Linked DNA regions of Homo sapiens: regions 1 and 2 are each linked to region 3. The links are contacts of gene promoters, found by promoter capture Hi-C in blood cells and fetal thymus (Javierre and others, 2016). All regions are on one chromosome and are shown on one strand. Each heading gives the region's core, a stretch centred on a gene start or on the middle of the fragment in contact. The rest is flanking DNA. Distances are from core to core; before and after follow the strand shown.

The links. Contacts are between HindIII fragments. The CHiCAGO score rates a contact against its expected background, and 5 or more counts as called.
Region 1: a contact is called between a fragment that was not itself captured here and the fragment with the promoter of PUM2 in region 3, in 3 of 17 cell types (fetal thymus, non-activated CD4 T cells and total CD4 T cells). The highest score is 8.0, in fetal thymus.
Region 2: a contact is called between a fragment that was not itself captured here and the fragment with the promoter of PUM2 in region 3, in 1 of 17 cell types (naive CD4 T cells). The highest score is 5.2, in naive CD4 T cells.

The regions. Positions count from the first base shown.
Region 1 is chr2:18,542,095-18,545,704 of GRCh38, forward strand. No RefSeq gene overlaps it. Among named protein-coding and RNA genes, the nearest start is that of RDH14, 17 kb to the right of the region's middle. The HindIII fragment of the contact is 5,341 bases long and covers 1-3,610 here.
Region 2 is chr2:19,336,587-19,340,051 of GRCh38, forward strand. No RefSeq gene overlaps it. Among named protein-coding and RNA genes, the nearest start is that of MIR4757, 10 kb to the right of the region's middle. The HindIII fragment of the contact is 986 bases long and covers 1,062-2,047 here.
Region 3 is chr2:20,349,422-20,352,721 of GRCh38, forward strand. It overlaps PUM2 (pumilio RNA binding family member 2), which reads right to left and starts at 1,423. Exons shown (of 21, transcript NM_015317.5): 1 at 1,176-1,423. RefSeq lists a silencer at 806-1,695 and enhancers at 891-1,520, 1,521-2,152, 1,856-1,945, 2,153-2,782. The HindIII fragment of the contact is 4,637 bases long and covers 706-3,300 here.

The DNA of each region.
Region 1 (3,610 bases), core at 565-3,064, 1.8 Mb before region 3:
AAACCCCAGATGTTTTGCAGACTTTCACTTCTGTTGTCCTTGAGGTGCTAGGCAGTCAAAACAAACGTTCACATTCATTGTCGTTTCTTCTAGGAAGACAAATACCCTCTGGGTAAAAGTGATTTTGCGTTCTCTCTTAACTTTTAGGTAGGGTTCTCACCTTCATGTTGGCTTGATTTTGACCTAAAAATTTTTCACCAGCTTGTAGCATTATGATGTTTTTAAGAAAAAAAGTAGACATATGGATATCTATCTATGTATCTATCTATGTATCTATGTATCTATGTATCTATGTATCTATCTATCTATCTATCTATCTATCTATCTATCTATCTATCTAATCTATTTAAATTTCATCCAGAATTTCTAGTTGTTCTGGAATAAAAATTGGTCAAAGTAATTTAGCCCATCATGTCTATAAGCTGACATTCCCTTAAATAATGTTTTTGAAAAGGAAAATACAATATTTTCTCTGTGAACTCTAATTTTATTCAGACAGTTTTTATGAAATAATATTGCTATGTCAAGTGTGTTATTGGTTGTATAGTGGGAAAGCTATACTAAATATCTGGAGTCTTTAGTGGGTTTTCAGAGTTATGTCTAATCACTGAATTCTCAGCAGATGTTGAAGAGTTAAAACGGTTGCATTTCAAAAGAAATAGTTGCATTTACTATATGGTACTGTAATATGGTTCTTTTGATCACCATATTGTGATTTAACTCAGACATGTTCATTGTTTGTGCAATTTCTCCAAACCCCTGAAAGATGATATATATCCCTCTGGCAGGAAACCAACACTCTAGAGTGGCACTGGGTTATTTAACCACCCTGATAAATAATTTACACTTGGGGATATTATGCAGAAACCTTTTCAATTAACTTGTGTTGACAGAGAAACTAAATATAGTAGTCATTGAATTTTTTTTTAATGCATTCTTGACCTATCAGGCAGAAATAATCTTGTTTAAAATAACGTCCACTCTAGAAAATGAATATATGAAAGAGAAAAATTTTGAATAATAACCATATACGAGAGTTAAATATCTAAGATTGTTTTGATTTCAGAGGAAATTTTAACTTTTTCTAAGTACATCATTTTAGTTCACTAAAAGAAGGATCTGCTGGTTGAGTAAAAAAGCCAAAGGTTCTAAACTCTAAAGATTTTGGTCCAAATCGTGGCTGCAGATGAGTCACTTGAGTTTTCTGAAGCCTTGTTTCCTTATCTATAAATTAGGAATAAGAATAGTTTACAATGTTGTTACAAGAATTAGAGATAATATATGTAAACTATCTCAAATAAATAGTAGTTTTTATTCTGGAAAGAATTTTCCCTAATGAGTTTAATCACATGTCCTATTTTATTCTATTAACTGATGAGCCATGGTCTTAGGGATTTGCAAGAATGTGGCACTATTTTAAAAAGAAAATAAGTCTTCTTTAGTTTTTTTCCTACGTGTAAACTTATTTGAAAATTAATTAACAGCTGGAGTAAATTAATACTAAATATGGCAAAATTAATTGTGTTGGCTTTAGCAAGTCACATCTGTCAACTGAAGACAGGCTGCTTACTAAAATACACAGGCATCTGCAGAAAGAACTAGAAGATGGAGTCAATAATTTGACTGAACTATACAGAAATTTCCAGGGGAATTTGTGGCAGGATGATGATGATGATGATTATGATTGTCTGTATGCTTTCTTTGTAGACATTCTAGTTTTCCTTGTACTAATTCCCAATTACCATTGACTATCATTGTCAAAAATAATGCCACACTTACTTAACGGCATTTTCATGCTTACTGTTTTGACTGTTCAATACGAGTGTTAAAGAAGAATCCAGCATTGGCTTCACAAGCCAGAAGAGCTCTCTTTTCTTCAATAAAGATGGAACTCATTTCCTAGGGTATAGTGAGAGACCATCTACCAGGACAGCCAAATCAGCCCCATCTACCCTGACCATCAGTAATGTGGTAGACACCTGAGCTTTCAGGTCATTAATTAACTAATTAATTTGTCAACCTAATATTTTGTGAGTGATTGATATAGCCCCATTCCAGATGTTAGCAGGATGCAGAAAAGGTGCAAACAGATTCCTGCTTTCAGTGTACTCACAGTTTAGTGCTTGGCCACTCACAACTAACCTTTGAGTCCCTTCCTATCTCTACTTCTCTGACTTGTTTTGCAGCATAAACACAGGAATAAATATTCCTAAGGTAACCAAGGATTCGGTCATGAATGTCTTTCTAATCCATTCACACTACCCAAAACACTTATGCAGGATTATCCATCACGAGTCATTCTACAGTCCTAATCACATTGGCTGCTGAAGGAAGCCTCGTATTAATTACATTTTTCCTAAATGGAAAACAGCTGTGATGAATTAATCTATTCACCAGAAATCTCATATTAGGAAATGAAGTCTCATATTTCTCATATAGGAATATCTATATCCTGATATAGATTTTTCTCAACTGTCAGTGTCTCCAACTGGAAGAGGAAGAATAATATCTTCCTCTACCTTACCTGTGTCTTTGAATGTGGCTGGTTCACTTGGCCCCTTCTACTTCTCTGTCATACAGCAGAGACAAAATGTTTCCTCAGCTAGACTAGAAACATTTAAATGATAAACACATATTTTTTTAAAAAAATGTCACTCAGATGCAGTAAAGTCAGCAAAACAGAACACATAATTACAAGGCCCACTTAAAGAGACACATCCAGAGCATAAATCTCCTGCTTAAGGATGGGCCTAATGCAGATATTACTGCTAATGCCACTAAACATTCAGTCTCAGAAGTCACTTCCTGTGCTCTGATTCTAGAAGAACTAATTAAGATTCTGAGTATAAGTTGGCTTCCCAAATGGATTTTCTTTATTGGGATACATTTTGCTACCCAAAGAAAAGTTTCCTGTTCTTTTGTTGGTTTCTCATTATTGACAGATATTTTGACAAATTCAAATATCTGAGGCTACTAAGCTAAGGCTTCAACATTGTACAATTGTGATTAAAGAAATGTCATACTGATTGCCTCTCTTCCCCCAACCCACCCCCAGCCCTTCAAGTAGTAATACCGAATTTCTTTGTGCCTTCTATATATGCCATGGCTTGGTCATTTGCAAAGTGATTTTAATTACCAACTTATGTTTTTCCTTTCTGGTCAGCAATCCTGGTAGATTATATTTGTTATATGAAACAGAATCCATCCCAGATATTTTAAGGAGGAACAGAAAACATTAAAGTAGGTATGTATAAAATAATGGAAAGGCCTGGAAGAATGACATAGGTTCTAGAAATAGAAATGACTCCAAGAATACACAAGAACTGACCTGCGAGGGGAAGGTACTACTTCTGCCCAAATCTGCACCTTCAGGAAGTTGTAAGACCTAAAGACTGCCAATGGAAATAAAAGTTAAAACACATGGCATCATGTGTGTCATACTAGGATCTAAACATCAGCGAACTGGAATCAAGATACCATCATGACTGCAACCTCCTCTCAACACCCATCAGGAGGTGAGTCAACATGGAATCATTGTAGAATCGGCCCCAATTGCCTCTTGTTATCAAAGAAAACAAAACGAAACAAAATTGACTCTGTTTCTATGGCC
Region 2 (3,465 bases), core at 305-2,804, 1.0 Mb before region 3:
TCAAATTTTTCCAAATGAAGGTATATTACTTTCACTAGCAGAAATAAAATCAACAATACTCCAAGAACTACCAAAAACAAAGCATCTGGTTTTGAAGGGTGGCAGAAGTATTTCAGCTAGTTCATCAATAAGATGGAAAAGAACACTTAGACGGTATCTTTCTACTAATGTTACAAATTAAACTCTGTTATAGAATAAAAATACATAAACACAAGTCAAACACAATGGGACTGTTGTGCCTCTGACCACATCAGGGCCATCCCAGATGTGACATTAATTCTGAAGCCTGCGCCTGCCCAATTTGGCAGCCAAGCAGCTGCCGTGAATGAACTTTGGAAATGCTACAATATTAGCCTTCACTGCTAATCCTGCTAATGCACTCACAATCTATTTGACAGCCTGCCCATCACATCCCCACTGTCAGGGCGAGCAGCCTTTGGAGGTGACTGTGATGAGAGGATTACTGAAAGAACACCCCAGGGTACAGAGTGGCCCTCTATCCATTGCATTCTGACTAGTGCTGTAGATAGGCCACATACCACAGAGGGCACTGGACAGAAGCCTGTCTTCCATACACCCCCTTGGCACACAGGTACCAGAGGGAGAAGGTCACCAACCCAAAGGGATGGTGGTTTTCAAAGAGCCATGCCATGCCTCCAGTCTCATCATGCAGAAAGAAAGTAAGGCCACTTGAAGGAAAAATTCACAGGCCAGAGGGCCCTGGATCATTCCTTACTAGCAGAGCTCTCCTCTCTAGAAGCCCTACTTGCTACAGAAAAGTGAAAAAAGGTTCTGGCCCCTTGGGATGAGTCAAAGGATGCCCCTCCCCCTCCTTTCCCTCTAGCTACCAGGTTCCTCAGGGAGTGGTTGACACTCCATAAAAGCTGCATTTACAGCTTTGACTTCATTAAACTAGCAGGATTGCTTTATTTGCCTTCTAAATTTTCAGGACTTTTATTTAAAATGTTTCATCCTAAACAGAATAAAATGGAAATAAAAGGTGCAGCCTTCATCGCATCTTATAATTATTTGGAAAAGCAATCTAGGATGTCCTAGAGCAAAGCTTTTGTTCGCACTTCCAAAAATGTCCCTTCTGGGCAGCCCCTTCATGCTGGCTGCCGTCAGGGCTACCAGTAGATTGTTCTTTTTACTCCAGTTTTAAACACACAGTTCTCATTCTCAACCTAATGATCAGAAGCATGTTTTTCCCAGGAGCACAATTAACCAGTCACCCCTCTTTACCTTGAAGTTTCCTCATTTCTGTAATTGGACCAAGGCTGTTCTCCTCCAAAGTCCGGCTTAGCTAGGAACACCTTCTCAAGCTCAGGTGCCACAAAAGGCACAGGGAATGCTGAGATAAGCAGAATTGGCTCATGTCCTCAAGGAGCCTGCAGTCTATAAGCAGATATTTGTAATATAGCATCAGAAATGTTAAGTCACAGCTTTTATAGAAGTACATTGGAGAAGTCCCTGGACCAGACTGAGAAGGTAAAAAAGTTTCAGGCTGCATCCTGAAAAAGTCTGGTCTGGGTGACACTATATGCTGACTGCCTTCTTCAGCTATATTTCAGCCATACTGATCATACGGATCATTAGTATAAGGAACCTGGCTAAAGAAGAAACTCTGAAGGGCAATGGAAAGTCTAAGCCATGTCCCATCAAGACGGCAACCTGAAACCCATCTGAGGCCTCACTGCCACCTCTGTTAGCCCTTGACATTCCCAGCTGAGGTGCTCCAACATTTTTCAGGTTCACAAGCTCATACTCCAGCTAGTGAAAGGAACAGAAATGCAGTATAACATCATAAACACTATGCCACCCTCTCAAACAAGCATCATCCTCTTCTGAAGAAAGACAAGCATGAGGTCCCTAGTGCAGGCAGGGGTTGGCCACATTTCTGCTCTCTTCCTTCTCCCAGGATGGGCTCCCTCCTGAATGAGACACCCCGGAAGGCTACCCTGTGAAGCAGGAGGAAGACTTCCACTTTGTGCTTGGACTTCCGCTTTCATCCTTCCTGTGCCAGCACTCAGAGCACCTGGTGAGGCAAAGCTTTCTCAGCCCAGGACCTCTTAGCTGCTTTCTTCCTCACCAGCAGGAGGTCAGAGCCCAGCACTCCTCATTTGTCAGGCCAGGGCCTCCCCTCAATGAATCTCAGTTACAGGGAGGCAGTACAGGGTCCTGGGAGCCCATGGATTTTGGAGTCTGAAGAATCTGGATTTGAAGGCTGGTTCTATGATTTACTAACTTTGTTATCTTGTACAAAAATGTACTTCTGAGCCTCAGTTTCCTCATTTAAAAAAATGGGAATATTTGTGATTGCAAATCTCTTGGCACAATGTTTCAGATATGGTAAGGATTCAACAAATGGTAGCTATATAGAATATCCCCTCCCCATAGGTCTGCATTCTATAATAAACATCATCTCTTACTAAGGAAGGAAGGAAGGATTCTCATGAGAAAGTGAGGGACTCTAGGCTCCTTGGAAAGCAGCTAAGGAGAGCTCAAGTGAGAGGTGGGTGGTTGGTTCTCAAAGGGTGAAACTCTCGCACGTATTTCTGAAATCAAGGTGAGACAGTTTTGTTCATGATCCAGATGCAGATGCATGCCTCCTATGCCAGGGGTAAGTGGACCCCTAGGGCCAAAGGAGGCACCAAGCCAAAGCCAGCTGTGCACCCATCTCTCTTTGCTATGTGTCTGCAGGAGGGTGGGTTGGGGGGGGGCGGCGGTGTTCCAAGCACCTCGATGGACCTGGTGTCAGTCAGGTAGGCCTAGGACAATCATTCTTAGTGAAAAATAATAAAACCAACAAACTGAAAAGGGCAGAATGGATTTTTTCCCCTGGGCTCCTCAGAGGTTATATTAGCAGCTCTGAAGATTCTTTCTTGGTCACTGATATTCAGGCGCCATGCCTTTCTGGCCTGTACACATTATGCTGCTCAGAATAATTTATATAGCAGGGAAATAAGTCGATATTAGAGATTCAAAGAAAACTCTAGACATTTTACATTTTTTCCTGTCAGTCAAAAATATATTTAGCAACTAATTGTGAGAGGACCTAACAACCACAGCTAAAATACCTGTAATACTTAGTTTTGGCTCACTCCCTAATTTCAAACTCTGATGATTATGAATAGAAGACAAAATCTGCGGGGATTGTGTGTGTGTGTCAGTTCTGAGCCACATCTAAGAACCAGTCTACAGATGGAAGGAGAGTTCCTGCCCACCACGGGGGTGGTACAGGGTTCCTTGTCTCATACAGATAACCTTATGTGAAAATTCCCATTTTAACACACCAACAAGGTCGGTGTGGCCTAACTACCACTGAGCTCTCTTCCCCTGAAATTAGAAATGAGTGCAATTTCTTTTGTTTCTCTAGAAACAAATATTTACAATTCAAACCTTTATGTTCAGTATTTCAAAATTTTTGTTTTTGCAATTGTTCTTACTTTGAAAGCAGTTGATTTG
Region 3 (3,300 bases), core at 173-2,672:
ATGCCATCATTTTTATTCATAATGATTGAGCAAATGAAGTAAATCATTGTTTAAAAGGAGGCTAGGAAGAGAAACAAGTTGAAAATACTCATTTTTGTTTTTTTTTTTTTATTTACAGGATTCCTTAAGTCATCTTCCAATACTCCAGGTCACATGGTGAAGAGTCACCTGTTAAACACGAAATCTAACCATTAAACAAGCTTTTAAAATCCTTCGGTAACTCCCTTTATTAAAATTGTTTTCTTGACATACAGTACCTTTACAGGTATTACATTTCTCTTCACCGTTTACAAGCATTTTTCTCATGTTTTCCTTCACCAAAACATCTGCCCCGTTTTCTCAACAAGTAAAAATCTCAAAGTACTAAGTCCTAACATGATGTCTTATTGCACCTAATATGCTGGCAATACATTCCTCTCTTCAAAAGTTTACGTATGTTAGAATAAAAAGCTAAGTTAAGTAGGTTTTCTCTGGCTGTGTTTTCAGAAACAACACTAACTTTTACACGTGTTTGGGCATGAAACTTTAAACATTTTCCCCAAAACCTGACCCAATTCAGATACAAAACTACTGCTCAAATAGTAGAAGCCGCTAATCTTGTCTTTGGTTTTAATTTACATATTTTTCTGAATATCGAAATCCGTTCCTATAACCTAAACAAGGCGAATCCAAGTCACTGCTTCATACCCACATCTGTCCACGGCAAGCTTTTCCCGGACACACTCGGGCCTTTGAAAATGCCCACACTTGTTTTCATAAACCCACTCCTTCCTCTTCACCCACTTGCAATCCGCATGCTTCTCTGGGGCCACCCGGCCTCTCCCCTCTTTCCGAACCCTAGGGCCGACAGCTCGGTCTCTAACCTCCAGCGCGCCGAATCGGAGGGAGAACCGGGTCGGCGCCCCACGCCCCCGAGGCGGCGGCCCCGCAGAGGGAAGGAAGCGGGAAAGCGGCCGGCGCGGCGCCCCCTCCCCCGCACGCGCACACCCCCTTCCGGCACCCCTCCCCCTGCATTGTGCGAGCGGGCCCCAGGCCGCACCGGCCCGGGCACTCAGCAGGCCCTATCCGCCCTCCCGCTGGCGATCGGCTCCCGCCGAGGCCGCCGCACAAAGCCTGGGGAGCCATCCTCGACGGCGCCAAAGGACCGGAGAAAGAGCGAACGCGGACTGACTTACAGGGCTGCTGCGGCCGCGCTGCCTCAGCCGGGGACACCGACCGTTGGGCACACGGCGGCGTCGCTCTTGGCGGTCCTCCCCCTCCTCCGCCTTCGGTGGCGGCAATGTCTTCTTTCTCCACCTACCACCCTCCCCCCCCACCCCACCTCCTCCTTCTCCTCCCCCTCCTCCTCCGAACCACCGAAGTACCGAGGGTGAGACACAGAGACTCACAACAACATGGCTGCCACCGCCGCCTGCCCTCCCCTCCCCCCCGCCCACCGGGCGCGCGCAGTGCACCCCGGGAGAAAGGGGAGGGGGAGCGCTCACCAAGGCGCGGCTCCTTTTAATGCCTTGCGTCCCTGCTCCCGCGCTGCCGCCGCGCGGGCCGGGGGCGCCCTGCGCGTGCGCACGTTCTCCGCGCTCTCACGTGTTTGGCCGCCTCTCCGGCGTGCCCTCCCCCGCCCTCACCTTGCGGGCTCGCGCTTCCCTCCTGGGCTCCGCCGCGGCGGGCTCGGAGAGCGCAGGCGTACTGTTGCCAAACGCTGTGTTCGACTGTCTTCCCGCGTGGGGCCTCGCCTTCTGAATCTTCTTACCCTCGGCTTCCTACCCGGTTGCTCACTGTTTTCCCCCAACTGGGTGTGCGGGTGTCTGCGCCCGCGCCGCCCACCGTGGGGTACTCCTGGCATTTCGCTTCCAGAGTGCTGGCGCCCACAAGAGCCGGACGTTAATTCAGGCCTTTAACTTTCACTCTGTACCTCCCCACAACCAGACGAGGGAGATGCATCTGGGGGTGGAAGATTGTACCCTGCGAGAGGGCTGTCACTCTTCTCGTGGTTGCACCCCAGGCAGGTGGAGCCAGCTCTCAGCAAATTGTCGGCCCCCAGTGCTTGGTCCCGGTGCACACAAAGGAAACTCAGGTCGTTCTCCAGCTGGGCCAGTGATTCTCACTCGTTGGCTGTTTCTTTTTCTCGCGTACTAAGCGCTCTCTCCTTCCCCGTTTACAGGCTAGTTGGAAACTCCAAATCTGCCTTGCTGTCCTGGACCCCCATGCAAAGCAGTGGTGATTCCAGGATTCTAACCTAACCGGCTCCAGGTCACACAGCTGTAACAGGCACCGTGTCCGATTTGTTCTTGATGGTTTGTTTGCACAGCTCCTGGCTCTCCTGACATGCTGCACTTCGTAAATATTCAGGGCCTCCCGTATAGTTTGCTTAATATATGTCTTCCCTAGGCGACTGTGAGCTCCACGAGGGCAAGGACCTTGTGTTTTGTTTCACACTGTGCCCGCAAGTGCCTGTTGAATACACATGGGCTCTTCGGTTTTTAACTATTACTGAAAAATGTCTGACATTGAAATCCATCCCAAGCCCCTACCTTAGGCTCATATTTCAGGCTTCTAGATATTTTCACTTGAATTTTCTTGTCACCAAGCATGTTAAAAACTGAAGTCACACCCATCCCCTACCCCCCACTCTTGTACTGTCTCTGTAATTGGCAGTGTCACCACCTATTCATTCCCCAAATTACACCTCTGAGAACCATCCTTGTCTCTTCCTCTTACCCCGACTCCAAATATAAATAACTTACCAAGCCTCGCAGATTTTTACTTCCCAAGTAATTCTGGAGACAGTCTTCCTCTGCCTCCTCACTAATGCTAGCCTTGCTTCCCAGGTCTGGATTTCTGTAGCTGGCTCTTAATCAGCTTTCCTGTCTCCAGTCTCACTCCCTCCAATCAGTTCTGCTCACTGCTATCTAAAATGCAAATCCAATTCCTGGCGCTCAGGCCTCTGCTTCAACCATCTCATTGCTCCCCATCACCCACGACAGCATTTCCCTAGTGTGCTGTGTTCAGTGTTAATAGATGTTCCTTTAAGAAATGTCTCACGATCAAGTAAGAATGGGAGATGCTGGGGTGTACACATTTTGCCTTCCTTCTCCTTTCCCCTCCGTTGAGCTGATAATAGCAGAAGAGTCTTTATATACAGTTGCTTAGTGTGGGTGAAACTAGATAAATCCATCACAGGCCCTCCCTTAGAATATGGAATTGGGACTAAGAGACCCCAACCTCGAAAGTCTCTTGGACCTGGGATCCCTTGGGCAGACTGGTTCCATCCTGTAAGACAGGGAACCTGTAGAGAAAGAG